3 separate regions of the Homo sapiens genome follow, and all the other regions are linked to region 2. Evidence: promoter capture Hi-C in 16 types of primary human blood cells and fetal thymus (Javierre and others, 2016). All regions are on one chromosome and are shown on one strand. Each heading gives the region's core, a stretch centred on a gene start or on the middle of the fragment in contact. The rest is flanking DNA. Distances are from core to core; before and after follow the strand shown. Region 1 holds the start of NDUFA11 (NADH:ubiquinone oxidoreductase subunit A11). Region 2 holds the start of PSPN (persephin). Region 3 holds the start of ADGRE1 (adhesion G protein-coupled receptor E1).

Evidence for each region. The method cuts DNA at HindIII sites, captures the fragments that hold promoters and counts their contacts. A CHiCAGO score of 5 or more calls a contact.
Region 1: the fragment with the promoter of NDUFA11 here is called in contact with the fragment with the promoter of PSPN in region 2 in 1 of 17 cell types (fetal thymus); the score reaches 5.6 in fetal thymus.
Region 3: the fragment with the promoter of ADGRE1 here is called in contact with the fragment with the promoter of PSPN in region 2 in 3 of 17 cell types (neutrophils, total CD4 T cells and activated CD4 T cells); the score reaches 6.6 in neutrophils.

What each region holds. Positions count from the first base shown.
Region 1 is chr19:5,902,508-5,905,207 of GRCh38, forward strand. NDUFA11 (NADH:ubiquinone oxidoreductase subunit A11) reads right to left here and starts at 1,283. Exons shown (of 4, transcript NM_175614.5): 1 at 1,105-1,283. The coding sequence starts at 1,201. VMAC (vimentin type intermediate filament associated coiled-coil protein) reads left to right here and starts at 2,365. Exons shown (of 2, transcript NM_001017921.4): 1 at 2,365-2,574. The coding sequence starts at 2,384. RefSeq lists enhancers at 715-1,361, 1,171-1,465, 2,039-2,158 and a silencer at 2,199-2,548. The HindIII fragment of the contact is 6,218 bases long and covers 626-2,700 here.
Region 2 is chr19:6,374,484-6,377,183 of GRCh38, forward strand. It overlaps PSPN (persephin), which reads right to left and starts at 1,450. Exons shown (of 2, transcript NM_004158.5): 1 at 1,219-1,450; 2 at 665-1,133. The coding sequence starts at 1,366. The coding sequence ends at 811. ALKBH7 (alkB homolog 7) reads left to right here. Exons shown (of 4, transcript NM_032306.4): 3 at 1-106; 4 at 328-767. The coding sequence ends at 490. The HindIII fragment of the contact is 10,611 bases long and covers 1-2,700 here.
Region 3 is chr19:6,886,167-6,888,866 of GRCh38, forward strand. ADGRE1 (adhesion G protein-coupled receptor E1) reads left to right here and starts at 1,413. Exons shown (of 21, transcript NM_001974.5): 1 at 1,413-1,473. The coding sequence starts at 1,443. RefSeq lists an enhancer at 1,407-1,466. The HindIII fragment of the contact is 2,856 bases long and covers 1-2,029 here.

The sequences.
Region 1 (2,700 bases), core at 33-2,532, 470 kb before region 2:
CTCCCACTTTGGCCTCCTGAGCGCCGGATTACAGGTGTGAGCCACCGCGCCTGGCCCAGTTTGTAAAGATTCTTCATCAGAGGGAAGAGGACTTCCAGCTCCATCTGGGACCTGATGAGTCCCAACCTGTGGCTGAGAATTAAAGGGCATGATGCCCATGAAACGCTCAGGCTGGAAGGGGCAAGACTCAGATTTACTCTATAAGAGAATGCCAGGGCCGGCCGGGCATGGTGGCTCACGCCTGTAATCCCAGCACTTTGGGAGCCCGAGATGGGCGGATGGCCTGAGACCAGGAGTTCCAGATCAGTCTGGCCAACACGGTGAAACCCCGTCTCTACTAAAAATACAAAATAATTAGCCAGGCGCGGTGGCGTGAGCCCGTAATCCCAGCTACTTGGGAGGCTGAGGCAAGGGAATTGCTCGAACCAGGGACGTGAAGGTTGCAGTGAGCCGAGATCTCGCCACTGCAGTCCAGCCCGGGCGACAGAGCAAGGCTCTGTCTCAAAAAAAAAAAAAAAAAAGGAGAATGCCAGGGCTTGCGGGTCCCCTTCATTCCCCTGCAAGGCTACCCTCATAGTAGCTCCTGATCCACCTCACCTAGGACCTCTCTGGCGGTCCCAGTAAAAGCTTCAGGTGTCCCTAACCACCCAGCACCCCCTGACCACAGAAAGACCTCATCCCACCCCAAAACTTTCTCAAACATCTGTACCGCCCTCAGATGCCCCAATCATGACTCATGATCCCCTCTAACAATCTCTACCCCGTTGGAAAGTCTCGTGGTCCCTTAGCTCCTTGGACCTGATAATAGCCCTGTCTCACTCCACAATTTCCCCGAGCCTGGCGATAGCTTGGGACCGCCTCAGATGACCCCAGGGACTAGCTTGTCGCATGTCACGACCTCCCAGTGCTCCCCAACCCTGCTGGACCCCCTACCAACATCCATTTCACACAAGATCCCCCCCTACGACCGCCCAAGACACCCCGATGACAACCACGTGCGTACCCGCGAGACTCCCAGACCCGTTCGATCCAAACAGCCCCCAGTAACCCCACGACCTCCCTGCGGCCTCGGCCCTCCACCCTCGGGGCCCGGCCGGCGCTCACCAGCGACGCTGGCAATACTGGTGGTGCTGTAGGCTTTGCGGTGGCAATCGGTGCCATCGGGGATATCCCAGTACTGACGAAAAACCTTCGGCGCCATAGCCCGCAATCTCGATCCCGCACCACGGACCCCGCCAGCTCGGGAAGCGCAAGGGCAGCCGCGGCTGGCTATCGCGAGACTTCTCGGGCTGCGCGCGCAACCTTTCGGGCTAGCGGGCCGGCAACAAGTGAGCAACTTTATTGATAGGCGCGGACATGGACATGGATCGCGCGCACGCGCCGGGGACCGGCCTGGAGGAAGAGAGTAGCACGTGCATCCCCAGGCCGATTCCTAGAGGGTGAAACTGAGGACGACTGCGATCAGTGCAGACAGATTTCGCTAGTCCCAGCTCAGGGAGTCCTAGGTTAGGGACTACTAGAGGCGGGGACTATCTACTAGGGGAGGGGCCGGGCTCAGACTGGGACGGGCGGGACTCCAGTTGATAGGAGCAAGACATGACGAAACAATGACTGGGGGGCGGGGCATGGCGGGGATGTGGCCACACCCAGTGTCAGAATCTGCATAGCGAGTGGTCATGCCCTGTGGTCAGTCACCAAGCTGGAGTCTGAGCAGCGTGCTACTGTTTTGGGCCGTGGACAGGATCAGGGGCGGGGATTATCGGGAAAGTGACCAATGACAATACGAGAAGCTCAGCGGGACGTGGCCTCTGTTCACCCCGCGGCTGTCCCACGCCCTAGGCCGGATGAAGTACACAGGCGCTTGACTTGGGGGCGTGGCTAGAATTGGAGGCATAACCTAAAAGGGACTTGACCAATCTGAGACTGTATAAGGGATGAAGGGGCGAGGCCGTGCCTGGATCTACCCCTGACAGGCCACAGGTTCGGGGGGCGTGGTCAGGCTTGCTGTTTCGCGGAGTCCGGGCCAATCCTGGTGTTAGCTTCCAAGTAGGGAGGGGACAGTATCGAAGGTGTGACCAATCTTGTTTCCAGAGCCTGAGTTGCGCGAGCCGCCAAAGGATGTGGCCAGCCTGGGGGCGTGGCTGTCAAGATCTTGTCCAATCCTAGAGTGAGCCCAAACTCAGGGGCGGAGTTTCATGATCCCGGAACCGGTGGTAGTGTTTGGGTTTGAGGAGAGCACGACCCAGCCCTCTGGGGTGGGGTCTAGCGGGGTCAGCGACCAATCGCGCCGAGGTCTAGTGGGGCGGGGCCCTCCCGGGGGCGGGGCCTGTGCCAGTTCCGGGCCGCCTGGGGGCGTGGCCGGGCCTGTACAGCAGCCTGGGCCATGTCGGCGCCGCCGGCCCTGCAGATCCGGGAGGCAAACGCACACCTGGCAGCCGTGCACCGGCGCGCAGCGGAGCTGGAGGCGCGGCTGGACGCGGCGGAGCGCACGGTGCACGCCCAAGCCGAGCGCCTGGCCCTCCACGACCAGCAGCTGCGCGCCGCCCTAGACGAACTGGGTCGCGCCAAGGACCGGTGAGGCCCGGGGCCGGCCAGGTGGACTTCACCGAGGCGGTAGGCGGAGGCAGAGCCGAGGCTGGAAAGCGAGGAAGGGCAGGGGGAACCGTGTGCACTTGTATAGACGCTAGACTGAGTATCGGA
Region 2 (2,700 bases), core at 200-2,699:
CCGGCCTGTCTCTCCTGTCTCCCAGCGTTATGCGGCTGGTGCACACCCAGGAGCCGGGGGAGTGGCTGGAACTCTTGCTGGAGCCGGGCTCCCTCTACATCCTTAGGTACCTCCATCCAGGCAGCACCCACCCCTCCAAGAATGTGCCATCCGCCCACCCTGTGCCCTGGGTACTTTCCCTCAATCCAGCCCTCCCCGAAGACGCCTTTACCCCAGGGTCTGTGTGGGAGGCAGCAGGGGGCTGGAATCCAGGAGGCTGGAATCCAGGTCTGCCTGGAGCAGGGGCTGCCCTCCTTGCACCCAGTCACAGCCTGTTTCTTCCTGCAGGGGCTCAGCCCGTTATGACTTCTCCCATGAGATCCTTCGGGATGAAGAGTCCTTCTTTGGGGAACGCCGGATTCCCCGGGGCCGGCGCATCTCCGTGATCTGCCGCTCCCTCCCTGAGGGCATGGGGCCAGGGGAGTCTGGACAGCCGCCCCCAGCCTGCTGACCCCCAGCTTTCTACAGACACCAGATTTGTGAATAAAGTTGGGGAATGGACAGCCTAACTGGGACATTGCAGTGGCTGCTTGCTGGGGCCGGGATTTGCAGGGGAACCCAGGATGGCACTGGCCCATAGGGAGCTCCAGGTGTGGCTGGCTGGACACATGGTCAAAGTCACAAGGCCGGGAGAGTGGTGTCCTTTATTGCACTCACTGCTGGTCGCCCCAGCCCACTCCCCTCCTCGTTGTCTCTGCATCCAGGTCTCCAATAAATAAGTCAGCCGAGCTCCCCCAGCACTGCAGCTTCTGGGTGCCAGGCCGGGCACCCTCAGCCACCACAGCCGCAGGCAGCCGCCGAGAGCTGGGGCAGCCGCTGCCAGCGGTGGCGGTCATCGAGGAAGGCCACGTCGGTGTAGCGAGTGGGCCGGCAGCAGGGCCCGCCGTGGGCTCGGCCCTGGCCCTGCAGCCGGGCCAGCGCCAGGCCATGCTGGGTGCGGGCACCACGGGGGCAGCTGCCGGCGCAGTAGCGGAAGATGACCTTCTCCTCTGAGGCGTAGCCCAGGCCTAGCTCTGCCACGGACAGGGTCAGGCTCCACAGCTGGCATGGACCAGACAGGGCTCGGCGCAGGCGGGCAAGGGGGCGGTGGGTGCCTGTGGGAGGGAAGGGCGCTGACAGTGAGCAGGGTCAGGGCTGGGGAAAGTTGGGAAGTCACAGAGGGTCCCTGGAAGTCCTTACCCAGCCAGGTCCCTCCAGCCTTTGCCACCTGTTCAGACGAGAACTCTCCATCGGCCACGGGAACCCCACGGGCATCGGGGCCCCAGCCCTGTCCCAGCTGCAGGGACAGGAGCAGCAGGGAGCCCAGCAGGAACTTCCCTACGGCCATTGTGACGGGCAGGTCCTGAGAGTGGGAGCTGTGCCCCAAATTTATGCCCTGCCTGGGCTGGGAGCTAACCTCTTCACTGCCGGCCCCTGCAGCCAGGAGGCCCCACGTCTGCACCAGCCCATCTCCTGCACCCTCGAATCCAGGCATCTGCTCCTTCTGCCCCACACCCCACCCTTCTAAGAGTTAAGGGCTCACCCCCAGCCTACCCCACCCCGACATTCCACACAGCCATTTCCGACGCCCCAGACACCCCCTGATTTACGAGTGCTGTGCTGGCGGCCAGGGCAGGCAACTGGTGTTCCCCCGACCTGCTGCCTGGAGTGGAAGTCAGGGGGCTTCATGGGACCCCGGTGGGGTCCCTCCCCACTAAGTCAGGGTGCTGGGGCTCAGGAGCCCCCACGTGTATCATGTGCCAGGTGGAGCATATGTGAGTGCTGGGAAAGGTGGCTTGGCAGGGGACTGAGTCCACGGGAACCCTCCATGGTGGCTCCCGCCTGGAGGATTAGGACATCATGCCCCTGTCTCCGGGCCTGGCTGAGCCAGCATCAAAACAGGAAAAGGGAGAGGCCTGGGGACAGCCAAGGGTGGGGACACAAGGGGACAGGGACGCCTGTCTCGGGAAGGCCAACCTGAGACCCCTATAACTGCAGCCCCATCCTGGGATCTGAGCATGTCAGAGCCCCCGGGGCGATGGAGGCTGTCCAGGTCATGGTAACGTCTAGCACGATGCAGACAGATAAGGGCTCTCGAGGCTTCCATACCCAGCCCCGTGTGAGCCCAGTCCCCTCACCGGTACAGGGGAGCTCCTCAGAACCCCTCCTACTCGGCTTGGTGAGGAAAGAGATGGGCACTTAGAGTGTAAGGCAGTGCCCGTAGCTTCGAATGCAAAAACAAGCAAACAGCTTGTGATTGTCCGAAGGGGTGCTTGACTCTAAGCACCCACAAGATTGGGGAAAATCAGAAAACCCTCACACACAACCCGTGTGACCCAGGTGCACCCTGTGCTGTTGGTGGGGGTGTAAATTGCTAGCAGCTCTTTGGATGAGCAGCTGCTACTGGGGAATTGTAAATTACACCCTCTGCCCCAGGAGCCCTGTTTGCGGGGTTCCTCCCACACAGGCAAGTGAAACAGCCAGCACAGGGACATCTGATGCCTTCTTCATATTAGGAAAGTCTGGAAGTGGCCTCAACTCCATCCGTGAGGGATTGCTTCGATGATTATGTTGTGGTTTTTCTTACTGAAGTGCTTATTGAGATGATAATTTTCCGATGGAAAGAAAAGCCTGGGCTTGGCGTGGTGGCTCATGCCTCGGGAGGCTGAGGCGGGTGGATTA
Region 3 (2,700 bases), core at 163-2,662, 510 kb after region 2:
AGTGGCACGATCTCGGCTCACTGCAGCCTCCGCCTCCTGGGTTCAAGCAATTCTCTGCCTCAGCCTCCGGAGTAGCTGGGATTACAGGTGCCTAACACCATACCACACTGGCTGATTTTTTGTATTTTTAGTAAAGACGGGGTTTCCCCATCTTGGCCAGGCTGGTCTTGAACTCCTGACCTCGTAATCCACCCTCCTCAGTCTCCCAAAGTGCTGAGATTACAGGTGTGAGCCACGGTGCCCGGCCATGTCTGTATTTTCTATTTCCTTGGTGTGAGGCAATGAACCTCGGGTATTACCCCAGATGGATGACACTGCTTCAATATCTGCCAGTCACTACACTTTGTTATCAGTGGGATTACATCAACTGGAGCCCATTCTATCTGCTTGGAGGCCAGGCCTGAAGATTCAAGGGGTTGACACCCTCTAGGAGCAAGCCTCAAGTCAACCCATGACTGACAGTAGGTGGGATATAAATACCTCAGCTCCCTCACCCCTCGGTTGGAATAACTGAAGAGTATGTTCCATGCCGCTCCCCAGTCATCCCTGGGGAGGTTAAGTTCCACTTTCTCACCATGTAACTTATTTGAAGACACACCCAGTATTGGCTCTTTGCCTTTCCTGATTCACTTTCTCCTCCCCCAGCTGGTGCTTTCTGGGGCCACCTTCTTGATAAACTACTTTTGCTAGAATCCTTGTCTGAGGGTCTGCCCTTGTGAGACCCTAAGATGTTACCAGAGAGAGTTAGGAAGCTGGGAATGGGGTGGAAGTGTTGCTGTATAATCGTCAGACAGAGTTGAGATCTGAAGGAAAATAAGATGGTTAAAGCTCTTGACTCTGGAATCAGAGGGTCCTGGGTTCAAATCTCAAGTCTGAGAGATCTTGGACAAGTTATAACTCCTCTGCAAGTCTCAGTTTCCATTTTGTTGGTGAATAGAGGGAGGGAGGGGAATTCCTACTTTACAAGGTTAACATGATAATGAAATTACACTTTGTTGCCAATGTGCCTAGCACACTGCCTGGTACATGATGGTTGTGATGGCTGTCTTTATACGGGAGACTGGGAAGAGACCCTAAAGGCTGAGATTTGCTTCACTGGAGGCAGGAAGCGGAAGCTCCTTTATTGGGTGCAATGAAAGAAGGTGTTGAGAGATGGGAGATAGATGTTGATGGGAAAGAAAAAGGGAGAGACCATGGGAAGGAGAGAGAGAGAGAATGATATACATTAGGCAGATTAACTTCTCTTTATTGTGAAGAAAGGGGGAAATTAGGATTTTCTAGGCTGTCTTTTAGTTGCAGCAAGTCAGCAAAAAGGGCTATGATGACCAGGCAGCATTGAGCAACTCTGACTCCGCCTTCCCCTCTTCGCACACCTTCTGGTTACTGAAAACCCAGCGTTAGTAGAAAAGTTTCTTTTCTTTGAATGACAGAACTACAGCATAATGCGTGGCTTCAACCTGCTCCTCTTCTGGGGTGAGTGTGAGGCTGAATGGGGGGCTAGGGGAGGCCTGGATTGGAAATAGACTTCAGGAGAAATGGGAGGGCCATGGATGGTCCAGCCAAGAGATCATAAGTCCAGACTGGATGCTGCAAACACCTTCATTCAGGGAACCTTTGACAAAATTCCATAGCTCAGGGAAGTCCATCTGTTAGGATAGATTTTTCTCTATAGTCATTCATTTGACCTGAGCAAGTCCTGTGTGTCAGGTGCTGTTCTAGGCACTAGAGGATATAGCAGTGAGAAAAAAAGACTAAGTTCCTGCACTCTTGAGGCTGATATTCTAGTGGGTAGGAGCAGACAGGAAAGAAGGCACAGATGATCATAGCCCACTTAGCACTGCTGTAACTTCTTTAAACATAGAGTGTATCCAATTGTCACAACATTTCTATGACATTGGGTCATTATTAGTCCTATTTTGCAAATGAGAAAACTGAGGCAAAAGAGATAAAATAATTTTCCCAAGGCCACTTAGTCAATAAGGGGTAGAGGCAGGATTTCAAGCCAGACAGTCTGACTTCAGAGTCTGTAAGCTTTTCCACTATACTATGTTGCCCCAAAAAATAAGTAAACATAGGAATTTCAGGTAGTGATAAGTGCTATGAAAGAAGTTGTTATAGAATGTGGTCGGGAGTTATGTTGAAGGGAGAAGTCTGGGGTTGAGGAGGGGCAGTTCGAGCTGAGTCCTGAAGGATGAGATAGACCCTTCCTGTGCTCTTATTTCTCTTTCTTCAGGTGTCAGTTTGTCTCAGCCTTGTTTATCTTCTGTGTTTCTGGTTTTTCTTCTATGTCTTGTGTGTTTTGGTCATTGGATCAAATTTAAGAATGGAGGATATTGGGGACATATTCTAAGTAGCAAGTATGGGTTTCCTCTGCTGTTGAAGAGTGGATCTGAATACCCTATTTTACCAAGGAGGAAACTGAGGCACAAAGAGATTAAATAACTTCCTCAAGGCCACGCAATCATTAATTGGTGAAGCCAGATTTTTAAACCTAAGCACTTTGACTTCAGACTTTGTATGCCTAAACAGCATGCTGAATTACCTCTAAAATAATTAATGAATGAGTAGAAGAATTTTTGTTAGTAATAATAGATAGAATTTGGGAGTTTAGATCTGTGGGACTTGTTGACTGGCAGGCTACATTAGAAGAAATAGGTGGCCTGTGGACATCAAATGTAGGCATGCAGAGTTGTTATTTTG